2 separate regions of the Homo sapiens genome follow, and region 1 is linked to region 2. Evidence: promoter capture Hi-C in 16 types of primary human blood cells and fetal thymus (Javierre and others, 2016). All regions are on one chromosome and are shown on one strand. Each heading gives the region's core, a stretch centred on a gene start or on the middle of the fragment in contact. The rest is flanking DNA. Distances are from core to core; before and after follow the strand shown.

Region 1 (4,999 bases), core at 2,475-4,974, 190 kb after region 2:
GCCTGTTAATACACACACACAAACACACACATAATAGAATGGGATAGAATATCTATATATATCTAATATATATAATATCTAATATATATAATATCTAATATATATAATATCTAATATATATAATATCTAATATATATAATATATATATAGAGAGAGAGAGAGAGCGAGAGAGAGAGAGAGAGGGAGAGACGGAGTTTCGCTCTTGTTGCCCAGACTGGAGTGCAATGGCGCGATCTCGGCTCACCGCAACCTCCGCCTCCCGGCTTCAAGCGATTCTCCTGCCTCAGCCTCCCGAGTAGCTGGGATTACAGGCGTGCGCCACCACGCCTGGCTAAATTTTTTTTTTTTTTTTTTAATTTTTAGTAGAGACGGGGTTTCTCCGTGTTGGCCAGGCTGGTCTCGATCTCCCGACCTCAGGTGATCCGCCCGCCTCGACCTCCCAAAGTGCTGGGATTACAGGCGGGAGCCACCGCGCCCGGCGGGATATTATATTTCCATAAGGCCCTCCGGGGGCCTGGGAACGGACTGGTGCTTGCGTGCGGGGCTTTTCCACTGGTTCCCTTCCGTACTCGGGCTTCCCCCGCTGTTGTTACTCCCTCAACGGGAACACAACTCCACCGCCGCCTCCGGGACACACCCCCGCCGCGTGGGCCGGGGTCCGGGACGCGCGCTCAGCTCGGCCCCGCGGGGGCGGCGCAGGAGGGAAGGGGGTGCGGACCCCGGAGGCGCCGCAGGAAGCCCTCGCCCACCCTTCCCGGCCGGGCCGGGTCCGCAGCTGACGGTGGGGGTGGGGAGCAGACGGGCGGGGCGCCGGCCGGCTTGGGGGTCCCCTGGTCCCGTCCAGGGGGCTCGGGCCGACTCCGGGCCAGCTGCGGAGGCGGGGGAGGGGACCCCGCTTTCCATGGCAGTGCCGAGGCGGCGCGCACAAAGGCGCCGCGATCAGCGCTTCATCGGTTCGAGTCAATTATCTGAGGCGCGGAGGCGGCGGGCGGGGCGAGGCGATTCCCCGGTGGGGCTGCGGAGCGCGGCGCCGAGACTCAGAGGAGGGGGCGCTGGGGAAGCGGCTTCTCCGTCTCCTGCTCCGCCCCGGGCTTCGTGGCGAGGCGCCGTCGCCCCCTGGTGGGGCCTCATCCATTCCTCGCTCACTCGCTCGTTCACCTTTTTCTCAACCTTACAGCGGGTGGCTCTACGGTACGAGCTGAGGGTGAAGTGCTGAGAACAGGGCAAGCGGGCCGTACCTTTAAATGCCCTGTCGGGAGCTGGGCCCCTCTGAGTGGCCAACCTCACCAGGAAAGGGCGCTCAGCCTCGCGCTGCAGATGGACTTGGAAGCAGACCGTCAGAATGCAGCCCTCCCTGCACGTGATAGAGTAAGGGCCGCACAGGGGATGAGGGCCCGGGGAGGCCCTTCGGGAGAGGAAGAGTCCCAGATGGCTCTCTGGAGGAAGTCTGGCCTAAGATGACCAGGTGAAGGGGTGGGGGTCCAGGGAGATGAGGGCGTTGCAGGTAGAGGTTTCAGCTATTGCAAAGGGGTTGCAGTACGGGCAAGTAAGGTGCACTCTGGGGAGAGTAACCTGTACTTACTGTGCGAGGGGAAGGGAGGTGATCAGTGAGGTAGGTAAGTGGGCCAGGGCCAGATGGCACAGGGCCACCTGCAAGCGTGGGCTGAGGGTGGGTTGTCAGGTCGTTTCATCATTTCCAGTTTATCCTTCTCCCCTTTAGATTTGGAGAGGATTTGGCTGCCCTCACCCTTGTAAGGGTTTAGGCATCATTCGCCCTTGACTCCTGTCCAGTTGTCTCACTGGTCTCCCTGTATCCCTTATTTTGCCCTTCAATCTGCCTGCACCCATCCTCCAAAATGACCTTTTTAAAAGCAAAGCTCGGTGGCACTACTTTTCAAAATCACAAATGCACAGGATCTGTAACCTGCTGGTTGCACATGACAGAAACCGCATAATAATCATGGGTTAGGCCGGGTGTGGTGGCTCAAGCCTGTAATCCCAGCACTTTGGGAGCCTGAGGCAAGCGGATCACTTGAGATCAGGAGTTCGAGACCAGGCTGGCCAATATGGTGAAACCCTGTCTCTACTAAAATACAAAACTTTGCTGGGCGTGGTGGTGTACACCAGCTACTCAGGAGGCTGAAGCACGAGGAGAATCGCTTGAACCCAGGAGGCAGAGGCTGCAGCGGGCTGAGATCACACCACTGCACTCCAGCCTAGGTGACAGAGCGAGGCTCCTTCTAAAAAAAAAAAGAAAATAAAAAAAAAGTCCTGGTGTTAGAGGCATTTTTCTTTTCCTCCTCCTCCTCCTCCTGCTCCTCCTCCTCCTCCTCTTCTTCTTCTTCTTTTCTGAGACAGAGTCTCCCTTTGTCACCCAGGCTGGAGTGCAATGGTGTGATCTTGGCTCACTGCAACCTCCACCTCTTGGGTTCAAGCGATTCTTCTGCCTCAGCCTCCAGCTAATTTTTGTATTTTTAGTAGACATGGGGTTTCACCATGTTAGCCAGGCTGGTCTTGAACTCCTGACCTCAGGTGATCCACCCGCCTTGGCCTCCCAAAGTGCTAGGATTACAGGTGTGAGCCACCACACTCAGCCAATAGAGGCATTTTTCTGTCATGTAAATAAAGTCTAAAGCAGGCAGTCTAAAACTGGCATGGTGCTCTACGGTTCAGGAACCTAAACTCCTTTTGTCTTATTATGCTACCCCCTCAGTACATGGTTTCCACTTCATGGCCCAACATGGCTGCTCAAACAGCAGCCCTCACATCTGCATCCCCAGATGGAGAGTCTTTTTTTTTTTTTGAGATGGAGTCTCCCTCTGTCACCCAGCCTGGAGTGCAGTGGCCTGATCTTCGCTCACTGGAATCTCTGCCTCCCAGGTTCAAGTGATTCCCCTGCTCAGCCTCCTGAGTAGCTGGGACCACAGGCACGTGCCACCACACCTGGCTAATTTTTTGTATTTTTAGTAGAGATGGGGTTTCACTGTGTTAGCCAGGATGGTCTCGATCTCCTGACCTTGTGATCCACCCACCTCGGCCTCCCAAAGTGCTGGGGTTACAGGTGTGAGCCACCGCGCCCAGCCCCCAGATGGAGAGTCTTTTAGTCATTAGAAAGGAGAAAGGAGCCAAGGAGGGAGGGAGGTTCCCTTAAAGACTCTTTCGGAAGTCACATACAATCTTCTTGTTGATGTTCCATTGGCTAAACTTGATCACATCACTACACTAAGCTACAAAGGAGGCTGAGAAATATGATCTGTGTTCTAGGCACCATGTGTCCAGATGAAAATTGAGGCTCTTATTTCAAAGAAAAAGTTCAGTCCATGGCCAGGCGTGGTGGCTCATACCTGTAATCCCAGCACTTTGGGAGGCCGAGGCTAGTGGATCACCTGAGGTCAGGAGTTCGAGACCAGCCTGGGTAACATGGAAAAACCCCGTCTCTACTAAAAATACAAAAATTAGCCGGGTGTGGTGGCATGTGCCTGTAGTCCCAGCTGCTCAGGAGGCTGAGGCAGGAAAATTGCTTGAATTTGGGAGGCACAGGTTGCAGTGAGCTGAGATCACGCCACTGCACTCCAGCCTGGGTGACAGAGCAGAACTCTGTCTCAAAAAAAAAAGTATCAGAAAAAGCGCAGTCTGGATATTGGGAAATGACCATCAGTCTATGCATGCTCAGGAGTTCCATGTCTAGCAGTGTGTCCTATAGGTTTGCTTAACCCATGTGACATTTGACACGTTTACAAGGTTATTCACTGCAGCATTGTGACAGCAAAAGACTGGAAACAACCTAAGTGTCCTGTAATAGGGGACTGGTTAAACAAATTATGGGACATTTATACAATGGAGAATGATGGCCACAAACACACATGAGGAAACTCTCAATGCAGTGATATGAAATGGTATTTAAGATGTTTCACTTTGGAAAACAGTTTGGCAGTTTCTTATAGAGTTAAACATACATCTCTCCTATGACCCAGCAAGTTCACCTCTAGGTTTTTGCTCAAAATAAAAATATATATGTATATATAGCTCCACAAGGACTTCTATGCAAATGTTCAACAGAGTTTAACATGTGATAGACAACAATTGGAAGTGACCCAAGATCGAACAGCCAATGAATGGATAAACTGGTGAGTCAAATATTACACTGGAGTTTAAATGAGTGATCCAATGTCTGCAACCACATGGATGAATCTCAAAACATGCTGAATGAAAACAAGCTGGATACAAAAAATAGCATGTTGTAATGATGCCGTTTATATGAAATTCTAGAAGAGGCAAAACAGACCAATCTATGATGACAGAAAGCAGAGCAGTGGCTGCCTCTGGGGTGGAGGGATGGACTGGGAAGGAGCATAAAAGAATTTCTTGGGATGCTGGAAATGTTCTGTATCATGATTGGGGTGTTGATTACACAGGTGCATTTCACTGCATGTAAATTATACCTTGATATTTTTAAAAAGCAGGGTGCAGAACAATGTTTAAATTATGGAATCCGGTATGTTTAAAAAGCAAGGAAATTTGCTTGTATCTGCATTGACTGTCTAGAAGAGACTTGTAATAGTGATTGTCGGTGGGAGAGGAACTGGGTAGCTGGGGGCTGGGGAAAAGGGACACTTTGGGCCATACCCTGTTATACCTGTTGAATCTTAAACCAGTTGAATGTACTACCTAATTAAAAACTAAAACTGAAAAGATCAGTTAGATGCACACGTGACATCACCACATTCATGTTTTAAATCTCCTAATGGCTCTTCCCGGCAATCTGGACGAAGTTCAGACTCTGAGCTGTCCTGGCCTTATGTGGCCCCACTCAGGCAGCATCCTCTCCAACCACTTTTCTGTTCCCTGCAGAGACAGCTCAGTGCCTGGCTCCCTCTGGTTGGCCTAAGTGCATATGTGCCATTCCCTGAGTGCTCAGCTCCTCGGTGAATTCTCCCCAGCCCCCTGCCTGAGTTGGTCCCTCGGGTCTCACTGGACCTGCTGCACTTTGCCTTCCCCC
Region 2 (4,757 bases), core at 1,192-3,691:
GAAGAGGGAGATGTAATTCTGCCTACTACAAATCCAAGTCCTATGGAAGGGTTTAAACTCACTTCCTAAAGAAAATCATCCCTTTCTTTAACAGAGTGTGAAGTAAAGATGTATATATTTTACTTATGTGAAGTAAAGTATATATACATACATACATATGTCTTTACTTATGTGACACAAAGATGTATGTTCAGAGATAGAGACAATAGTAAAAACAAGGACTCACTCTGGATGAGTGAGTAGGAAAAGGACGCGCAGTATGGAAAAGGAGTTGCCACCTGTTTCATCCTCAAATTGCAAGGCACTTCACCCATAACTACTTAGAAACTAACCCATGCTCCTCCTTAAATGTGTATTTCTCTTCTCTGTATTCCACAAAGGAGTACATAACTAGGCTTTTTTTTATTTTTAAAGAAAAGTCACCTCACGGGGACCTAACTGTATAATCAGTTGATTAATCAATCTAAGCAAATTTCCAATCTTGCATTCTTTCTTCAAGTCATACACCCTCCCGCAATAGCAAACCAAAGCCAAGTATTTCAAAGTCACAGAAGGACAAAAACATGCCCTGCTAAGACTGCAGGTGAACTTTTGAGAATACCACGGAGGAGAACTAGTATTGGTACTGGACTTTCAGCCCCAGGTCCACCAAGCCAGTAAAGCCAAATGACTTACAACAAAACCCTACAACAACTACAAAGATACTACTCTAAAGCCCTGTCTACAGTCAAATTCTTGACTATAAATTTTACTTAGAACAGAAGAGCCCCAAATATACCAGCTAGTCCCTTTACAGTGACAGGTAAAAGCTACTTACTACACTTACTACCTGCCAGACACTGTAGTAAGCACTTGACACAAATTGTCTTATTTACTCTTCTCCGTAAACTCACAAGCTAGAAAATACCATCATCCCCCTTTTACAGACGGGAAAACTGAGGCTTAGAGAGTTTAGGTCACACAGCTAAGTAGCAATGGCCCTGATATTTGAGAACCTAGGCAGTCTGGTTTTTAACCACTGGGCCTACACTGCACTCCTCAGATGGAATGAAGTCTCCAATTCTTGGAAAAATCTTCCCTTCTTAGTTTTCTTTTTTCTTTTTGAGGCGGAGTCTCGCTCTGTCGCCCAGGCTGGAGTGCAGTGGCGGATCTCAGCTCACTGCCACCTCCGCCTCCCAGGTTCAAGCGATTCTCCTGCCTTAGCCTCCCGAGTAGCTGGGATTACAGGCGCGCGCCACCAAGCCCGGCTGATATTTGCATTTTTAGTACAGACGGGGTTTCACCGTGTTGGTCAGGCTGGTCTCGAACTCCTGACCTCGTGATCCACCCGCCTCGGCCTCCCAGAGTGCTGGGATTACAGGCGTGAGCCACACGCCCGGCCTCTCTTCTTAGTTTTCATTTCCTCTCCCCATGTCCCATTCTCGTAGAATTAAACAGCTGAAAAGTAATCAAGTCTTCCCAAATAATTTGCCACCTTCTTTTCAAAACTCTTTCCTCCACACAAAGCAATAGCCAAGATGCAACTTCTCCTGACCCTGACTCTGCTTCCCCAAAACAAACTACAGAAGCTCCACCCATCACCTGCTTAATCTAGCAATGTTCCAACACTGCAAAAAACACACAACGAAAAACAAAATTGAAAAGTCCTACTCTTTCAAAAGGTCACCAACATATGTATACCCTTAGCCAAGCTTTCTCTCCATACCTCTTTTTCTATCCAGGCTCCTAACTAGTCCTTAACTCCAACTCCAGACGTTCTGCCCCACGTCTTGGTCCCTTCCCCCTTTCGCCCCAGCAACCCCGCCTGGGGTTCTCTCCACCTCGCACCCACTCTGCAGGTGGGAAGCTCAGCCCCGCCCAGAGGGACCCTAAGAAGGCCCCTACTCCAGCTGCCCAGTTTCGCGGGAGGGTTCACTGCACACTACCCAGCAGGCACCACTCCCTCCGCACCCTCCCCCAGCACCCCCCTGCGGCCCCACCCCTCAAGTTCCCTTCCCCCTCTGACGACCCCCTCCTCCAAGTTGTCCCCTAGTCCCCACCCAGTTCAGTCCTCTCCTCTGCAATAAGCTGGACTCCGGCAGCCGGTTCCCACCCTCACATCGGCCTCTGCCCCCAAACCTCGCCCTCCGCCCTGAGGGGTGGCCCCTGGGCCTCCCCGATGGGCTGCAGGGGCCTCGCTTGGTTTATGTGTGAAGGTGGGGGCAGGGGAAGGCGACGGGCCGCTCAGGAGTCTGCTGGAAGCGTGAGGGTCGGCCGCGCTCCGCTGCCCTATCCTGGGCCCACCCCACCCGCCAACGACCTCGCCTGGCTGCTCCCTAGGTACCTGTGGTGGAAGCGGCAGCGGCGGCGGCCGCTCTCCCCTCTGCTCACACAGACAATATGGCGGCGATGGAGGAGGAGACACACGGCTCGGCCGCCAGCCGCAGGGACCAGAGCGAGGCTGCAGCCGCTGCTGCCGGAAGCGGAAACCCCCTCCTACCAGGAGGCGGGGCGAGACAGCTTCCGACTCCGCCCCCAGAGGAATCTCTCTGAATGCGGCCATGCTGGGATGTCCTATTGTAACCTTAGGGATTCAGTTCTGGCCTAGGGTGCAAAATGGAAGGAATCCCCAACGCAAAGCAGAATAAGGAGACTTGCAATAGTTAAGCGCATTTTATTTCAATAGTGTTAACAAGTGACAACAGAGAGAACACGAACCTCCCATTAGGTGAACAGTTGGTTTGACCCAAGTTAAGATGGCGGTACCCAGGTTTCCCACACTTCACCCAGCTGGCCCCCCTTTCTTGAAAAGAACCATGCGCGACCTGCAGAGCTGTAGAGCCAAGCATTCTGGGAGCTGAAGTCTCTTTTGCTCTGACCCCTCGTTTTAAATTAGGGTTTCAGCAACACTTTCTATTCAAACTTGGAGTTCGGAAGAAGTGAATGAAAGTTGGACCCTAGGAAGGGCATGGCGCAGGAGTCTGAGAAGTGAGGATACTAGCTCTCAAGAGACCAAGGCCCAATTCCTTCCTCCTACAGGAGTCCTGCCAAGAGCTGTGCGTCCAAAATACAGTGTTTTTTTTTCCTTCTATCTGCCTCCCACCCCTGCTCTCCTTGCCCGAGCTACCTCCCCAAAACAGCCACAAAGCACTTTCTACCATGCAGAGCTCATCATGGTCTCCCTATGGTCAAAAATCTCCCATGGACCTCTTTATGCACCAAAGATAGCCCAAACTCTTCACTTGACATTCAGAGTCCTCCATAATTTGGCCAAACCCTCCTTTCCAGCCTCCTATTCTGCCACTCTCTTCTCAAATTCCGGAAGATTCCACCCACAAGACTGCAAACAATTCCTGGAACTTAGCTGTGTTGCCTCCCTCCCTTTACACTGGCAGTTACTTCTCTTACTGTCACCTCATGGACTGGATAATTTCTGTATGCCGATTGAACTAATTCAGGGATCCTTTCCTCTAGGGGTCTCCTCTCTGTTTAACTCCCTCCAACCCAGACACTATCAGTCAGTAACCTGAGGACCTCAGTCTGTCTCCTCCATCAGACTGGGAGCCCCCAGTGGACAGGGCTCCATCTGATGATCAACCTCTCCTTTGCAGGCCCTGATAAAAGCTGAAGCGTCTAAGAGTTGCTGAAAGGAGTTCAAGTATTAGTCTCACCTCTGGTGGGACAGAGGTGTGAGCACTGGAACGAGGGTGAGGAGGCCAGGTTCTTTCAGTACCAACCATTATCCCTAACTGTCTCAGAATAGCTGGTTGTCTCAGGAATGGGCCTCTCCACCCTCCACAGCCCTGCCTTCACAGTTTGTCAGCTGACTAGCACCTCTGCTCCCAAAGAGGCACCTCTTCCCCATGTGGGGTTAGGGCTGGTGGTGGCTGCAGACTTATAGTGATGGCCTCAGGGAGGTGGCTGTGGCCTTCTCTGGACCTCATCTGCTAGACAGCTTGTGACATCTGATCCCAATTGCCTGGGAACCCACAACAGTTTTTCTCTCAGTGTCCTGTAACTGGGCCTCAATTTCCCCACTTGTGGACTGAGGAGGTTATACAAGATAATCCCAAAGTTTCTGGGAAGCCATCTTCCAGGAAATGATACCCTTCTACCTACCTCTCGAACGTATCTTTTTGGCTCTTGTGGCTTTGTTTTTCCCAACTGTATTCACATTTGTTTAACTCACAACAATTCATCATTTGCTATGAGCCAGACACTGTGCTAGGTACTGGGGATGTGTTATGAGGAAGACATACACCAGTTGCTCACTGGTGGAGCTTACCTTCTAAAGTGAGAAGCAAGTAATGCACAGGTAAACAAATGCATAAACAAAGTAATTTCAGGTAGCAATAAGTGCTACGAAAGGAAAAGATAAGTAGCTGTGAAGTATAGAGCTTTAGCTTGAGTGGTTCAGAAGGTCCCTTTGAGAAGGAAACAGTAAGTGCAAACGTCCCAAGGCAGGAAAGAGCATCACAAGTTTGAAGAAGGAGGCCATGGTGGCTGAAGCACTGCAAATAAAGGGAAGAAGAGGAAGAAATATGGTGGGAGAGGTGGGCAGGGCATTCAGGTCATGATAAGGAAGCTGGGTTTTCATCTGAGTGTAGTGAGGATATTTCCCATTGCTTAGCCTTCATGCCTTTCCAATCTCAGCCTCTCTCACAGCATTAGTTCTTCATTCTTCTTCCTAGTTCTGGCCTCTATCCATGACTTCATTCAGAGGGCTCACCTGGGCACACATATACAACCCTCATACTCATGCAGGACATAATTGAAAC

What was found. Contacts are between HindIII fragments. The CHiCAGO score rates a contact against its expected background, and 5 or more counts as called.
Region 1: a fragment that was not itself captured here is called in contact with the fragment with the promoter of CSNK2A1 in region 2 in 5 of 17 cell types (M2 macrophages, megakaryocytes, erythroblasts and 2 more); the score reaches 11.4 in M2 macrophages.

What each region holds. Positions count from the first base shown.
Region 1 is chr20:727,451-732,449 of GRCh38, forward strand. No RefSeq gene overlaps it. Among named protein-coding and RNA genes, the nearest start is that of SLC52A3, 39 kb to the right of the region's middle. The HindIII fragment of the contact is 8,874 bases long and covers 1-4,999 here.
Region 2 is chr20:541,349-546,105 of GRCh38, forward strand. It overlaps CSNK2A1 (casein kinase 2 alpha 1), which reads right to left and starts at 2,442. Exons shown (of 14, transcript NM_177559.3): 1 at 2,324-2,442. RefSeq lists enhancers at 762-1,455, 2,149-2,842, 2,328-2,477, 2,498-2,577, 2,688-2,737 and 1 more and a silencer at 1,948-2,007. The HindIII fragment of the contact is 12,556 bases long and covers 1,690-4,757 here.